2 separate regions of the Homo sapiens genome follow, and region 1 is linked to region 2. Evidence: promoter capture Hi-C in human tissues and cell types (Jung and others, 2019). All regions are on one chromosome and are shown on one strand. The core of a region is centred on a gene start or on the middle of the fragment in contact, and the rest is flanking DNA. Distances in the headings are between cores, read along the strand shown. Region 1 overlaps DYNC1LI2 (dynein cytoplasmic 1 light intermediate chain 2). Region 2 holds the start of CA7 (carbonic anhydrase 7).

Region 1 (2,700 bases), core at 115-2,614, 100 kb after region 2:
AAAAATTACTAATTCCCCAATATAATTAGGCGTCTGGTAATTCATATCTCAGTTTATGTAAGTGATGATTTTATCTTCACATTTAAATACAAAGGTTCTGTCTCTTTGGCATCCTTTATAGTATGTGAATGCATTGTTTAGTGTGACCAACACAAGAAGGGCTTGTTTAAACATAGGCTCTTCAGCACAGCTCACTGCTTCACTGATTGCTGTTACCTTAGGATGATGGATTATTTAGGTTGTGGCACAGTTGACCAGTGAACATTAGTATCTTTTGGTTTTTATTGAAAGCTAAGAGACTCTCACCCTTTTTTTTTTTTTTTTTTTTTTGAGATGGAGTCTCACTCTGTCATCCAGGCTGGAGTGCAGTGGCACGATCTCGACTCACTGCAACATCTGCCTCCCGGGTTCAAGTGATTCTCCTACCTCAGCCTCCCAAGTAGCTGGGATTACAGGCGCCTGCCACCATGCCCAGCTAAATTTTGTATTTTTAATAGAGACAGGTTTTACCATGCTGGCCAGGCCGGTCTTGAACTCCCGACCTCGTGATCAGTTCGCCTCAGCCTCCCAAAGTGCAGGGATTATAGGTGTGAGCCACCGCACTGGGTCCGATACCCTCAATCTTTACTTCATAGACATTTTGGAAACCTTTTTAGGTGTGAACACCTCCTATATTACTGTAGTTTTTTTTGTTTGTTTTGTTTTTGTTTTTGTTTTTGTTTTTGTTTTGAGATGGACTCTCATTCTGTTGCCCAGGCTGGAGTGCATTGGCACAATCTCAGCTCATCGCAACCTCTACTTCCTGGGTTCAAGCAATTCTCCTGCCTCAGCCTCCTAAGTAGCCGGGATTACAGGCGAGTGTCACGATGCCCGGCTAATTTGTTTTGTACTTTTAGTAGAGATGGGGTTTTGCCATGTTGGCCAGGCTGGTCTTGAACCCCTGACCTCAAGTGATCCACCTGCCTCAGCCTCTCAAAGTGTTGAGATTACAGGTGTGAGCCACCATGCCTGGACCCTATATTACTGTAGTTTTAAAGGCACCAGGACCAAGGATTGCTGTCTCCTGAGCACTTGGGCACTTTTTGGTTTGGATTTCCAAATTTTGCATTCTATTTAGAATTCATAGCTGTCACCTTCAAGATCTTCCTGATGTGTCTGTTTCTGCAGCTATGCTGATGGTCACTGTCAGGTGGTAACTAGCTTCATTCACTTGTTTTCTCAGATCACACGCGCTGCAACGTGTGGATTCTGGATGGAGACTTGTACCACAAAGGCCTGCTGAAATTTGCAGTTTCTGCTGAATCCTTGCCAGAGACCCTCGTCATTTTTGTTGCAGACATGTCTAGACCTTGGACTGTGATGGAATCTCTGCAGAAATGGGCTAGTGTTTTACGTGAGCACATTGATAAAATGAAAATTCCACCAGAAAAAATGAGGGAGCTGGAACGGAAGTGTGAGTAAAATATAATTTTCTTAATTGGGAAGTTCACGAGTCTCTTTAGATGGTTTGAATCACTTTCCTTTTCCCAATCCTAGAGGCTTCCCTTGCTTCGTGGTTTTGTTTTGTTTGCACCATTTATTTCAGAGTTCCTCTTGTAAACTCAGTAGTCAAAAGTATTCAAAGCAGTCTTTAACTCAAGTGTCACAAGTTGAAGAAAACAAATCAATATTTATTATCTTCATTGGTTTCCGTTTCAAATAAGAGTTCTTCCCTCACTCCCTAAAATGTGTTAAGTTCTGTGGATCTCTGTGCTTTTCTGTTACTCTCTGTCTGCTGAGTTAACATCAGAGGATGTGAGGGTTTGCTGTGGTCTCTGCAGCTTGAGTTTACTGCCCTGGAATTCCATTAAGGCCCTATGGACCCTCGTGTTGGCAGGCTTAGAGGAAGTCCTAAGAAAGACAAAGCTTTCAGCTCCTTAGTTCATTTTGGAATCCAGCAAAATACGATTTTAGTTAGAAATAGGAGGGTCTTTTTTTTTTTTTTTTTTTTTTTGTAATTAACATGAAAGGTTATTTTAAGACTAAGGACATCCAAGCCCTTTTGACAACAAAGAACTTTCAAATTAAAGGAAGTTTGTTTGGGTTTTTTTTTCCTTAATGTGGTTCAGAAGCTTGTTTTTCCTTTCCCTTGCTTCTGTGCAGTTACATCATCTTCTGTCCACTTGCCAGGGAAATGGGAGGGGCAGGGGCTGGAGCCATGGCAGCAGCAGCAGCCGTCCTGGCCGGGGCAAGCTTGACCCAGCCTGGCGTATTTTCACAGGATGACATCACCCCCTCTGGTGAATTAATGAGGGCTTCTCGGGCATGGCACACGGGATCTTCACACTTACTGGCAGAATGGTTCAGAAATTTTGATGCGCTTTTTAAATCAAGTTTCTCGCAGTGTGTTTTCTGTCCAGTACTTCATCTTGCTTCTGTCCCACGTTGTCTAAAACAATGAGTTTAACATTGTATTCTTCGGTTTGTTGTGCATGTGTATATTTCCCTGGTCACCCGCATGTGTGCTACTGTGATTGTTATGCAGCTCAGCTCATGTGTCTTCAACCACTGACCTTTCTAGATAATGCCTCTTTTTTCCTGAAATAGAGCCCTTAAGGACAACTTCTCTGAATAGTTCTGAGTCTGAAGACCTGCTTTCATCCACTGCACAGACAGCTTTGTACCCAGATGAGTGGGCTAATGTACTGGTGACTTCAGTTC
Region 2 (2,760 bases), core at 8-2,507:
TCCTGTCCATCTGCCCCATGTCTGCCTGTCTCTCCCTCTCTGCTTGTCTATATCATCTTTTTCTGAATGTCTCTTTCCAGCTCTTGCATACCCAGATCTGGGGGTTCTCTTCCAAAATATGCTCCTTTGTTCTTGGGGCCCCAGAGGGAGCCAAAGACTCCACAGCACCCTCCCTCTGGTCTACTGCAACTTTCTGGCTTCCCAGACTGTGGTCCCCCACCCAACCTCACAAAGTGACTGCCTCTCCGCAGAGGAGTGGGGCTGGGGGATGTTCCTCCCATCATTACTTTTTCTTCTCCGCACCCCACCTGTCTTGCACTGGCTCCCCAGGGAAATAGGGAACCCCTTACCCCACACCCCCACCCCTGCTTGGTAAGAAATGGCCCCAAAGGGAATTGACTGCCCCAGACCCACACTCCAGCCGTCTGGCTCTCACCTTCTGCCTCTTCTCCCTTTCTCTGAGTCCTAAGGAAACTGAGGCAGGATGAAGGAGCTCTCTTCCGCGTCAGCCCAGGAGGCTGGTGTGGGCCACGGGCTCCCACGACTCACACCCGGACGTGCGCAAACACCCTGCTCGGTGTAGACACCCAGACACATGCTTGCGCCCCCAAGTGCCCCCTTCCCTCACGTACCGGCCGAGAAGGCAGCTCGGCCACTTCTGCGGGGAAATTCTCTCCGGGGGACACTGCGCCCTTGCCACGCGGAGCCCCGCTCCCCCGAGGTCCCCGCTCACTTGCCGTGCGCGCTCCCCGCAGACACCCGCGCACAGCGCTCCGCGGCGCCCGCCCCCCGCTGCCCTGGGCCACCCCCACGCGCTGCGCACGCCCGGGGCGAGTGAGTGAGAGTCTGGGCCTGGGTCTGAGCGGGCTGGGCAATCAGGGGCTTCGCGGAGGAGGCGGCAGGACACAGCCGCCAGGTCGCTTGCTGGCGGCGGGGCCACCCGGGGCGCAGCGCGGACTTTGCGTCTGGCGCGGGGGACCAAGGCTTGGGCCAAGTTCGGGGGCCGGGATGGGAAGAGGGGTCCCGCCCAGCCTGGAGTGTGGGAGCTTTCCGGTCTGGGAAACCAGCTGGGCAAGAGGGTTGGGGCGAGTGCAGTTGGGTCGGGGGTCCGAGCCAGAGGCGGTGGGGGAGGTCTGTGCCTACCGTCGTCCTGGCCGTAGCCCCAGCCGTGGTGGCCGGTCATGCCGCTGCCGTCCCCGCAGCCGTGCACCTGCCCGGTCGGCTCGGTCCGCTCGTTCGGGCTGCGGCTCCGGCCCCGCTCGCTACCGCGGAGCAGCCTCTTAAAGCAGCGGCTGGCGGGAGGAGCAGTTCCCGGGGGACCCGCCCCCCACCCCCCAGCAGGGCCAGAGAGGCCGGCCTGCCCCGCCCTCGCCCGCCGGCGAGCCAGTTGAACCCCGAGCGGAGATTCAGGGCAGGAGGAAGTAACCCTCTCCCCCCAACTCCCACCCCTGCCCTGGCTGGGCGACTATCCCTCTTTTTCCCCCAGCAACCCGTGCGGACTCTGGGACACTAGATGCCCGTGCCGCACATGGCGTCCCTTCCCTAGGCTTGCCCCAGACCTGCAAATGCCACCACCAGAGACCTGAGCTCTGGGTCCTGAATCTTTTGGGGTTGGAAAGTCCCCTTTAAACTGCAAACTACACTGACCATCAAGTGTCCAAAACTGGAGCTTCCACTGTTTGCCAGAGGCTGTTGCAGGCGCTGGACCAAGCTTTGGGTCCTTCCTATGGTATAACCCTCTCTGTTACCCTACAAGGTTGGGTGCTTCCATCAGCCCTATCTGACAGAGGAGGGGAGTGAGGCCCAGAGAAGTGAAGTGACTTGCCCAAGGTCATCTAGCCAGGGGGTAAAGGGTTCATTAGCTGGGGTTCTTACTCCAGACACTGGGGGTTTTGTGGGATTTGTTTGTTTGTTTGTTTGTTTGCTTGTTTGTTTTTAGACAGAGTCTTGCTCTGTCACCCAGGCTGGTGCTATATCAGCTCACTGCAACCTCCACCTCCTTGATTCAAGTGATTCTTCTGCTTCAGCCTTCCAAGTAGCTGGGATTACAGGTGTGTGCCACCACATCCAGCTAATTTTTGTGTTTTTTGTAGAGATGGGGGTTTCACCATGTTGCCTGGGCTGGTCTTGAACTTCTGGCCTCAAGTAATCCACCCGCCTTGGCCTCCCAAAGTGTTGGGATTAGAGGAGTGAGCCACCACTCCTGGCCTGACACTGGGGTCTTTACCATTTCTCCTTGGTGCTGGGTACAAGGGTGTGCTGTGAGTGTGGGGGTCCGGGAACCCTGGGGTAGATGCAGGGACAGGAATGGCAATGTGAACCCTTGGCCCAGGTGGAACCAGATCCCCCAAGGGGGAGTGAGAAGGAGTGGCATCAACCAATGGGCCTGAAGACAGGCAGACACCAGGTGGCTTCCCCATGGAGCTAAGTCTGAGGCTCTGACTTCCACCCTCCCTGTTATTTTGTCTACTGCTTCCTCCTTTCTTCAGGGACTCTGCTTTGTCCCTCCATAGCCTGCTGTTTGTCCCTCCTCTCCTGACCTCCCCATAACCTTCAGTACACCCCCTGGGAGCTCAGACCCTCCACCCTGCACTCAACCCCAGTGCCTGCCTTGGCCCAGTATTTTCCCACCCACGAGCCCTGGTCGTTGTTGTGCCCTCCACCTGGTGCGTCCTCTGTCTTCCACCCACTGGCTCCAGCCGGCCCAATCTGATTCATCTTAGCACGTGGCCTTGTGCCAGGGAGAGGGCTTGTCTCTGG

What was found. The method cuts DNA at HindIII sites, captures the fragments that hold promoters and counts their contacts. A contact is called where the count stands out against the background at its distance.
Region 1: a fragment that was not itself captured here is called in contact with the fragment with the promoter of CA7 in region 2 in 2 of the 25 tissues and cell types used here (bladder and thymus).

The regions. Positions count from the first base shown.
Region 1 is chr16:66,741,191-66,743,890 of GRCh38, reverse strand. It overlaps DYNC1LI2 (dynein cytoplasmic 1 light intermediate chain 2), which reads left to right. Exons shown (of 13, transcript NM_006141.3): 4 at 1,223-1,453. Among named protein-coding and RNA genes, the nearest start is that of DYNC1LI2, 9.1 kb to the left of the region's middle. The HindIII fragment of the contact is 5,830 bases long and covers 1-2,700 here.
Region 2 is chr16:66,842,911-66,845,670 of GRCh38, reverse strand. CA7 (carbonic anhydrase 7) reads right to left here and starts at 1,257. Exons shown (of 7, transcript NM_005182.3): 1 at 1,144-1,257. The coding sequence starts at 1,183. All of the region lies in intron 3 of LOC124903699 (a long non-coding RNA gene), which reads left to right. RefSeq lists an enhancer at 828-1,329. The HindIII fragment of the contact is 13,624 bases long and covers 1-2,760 here.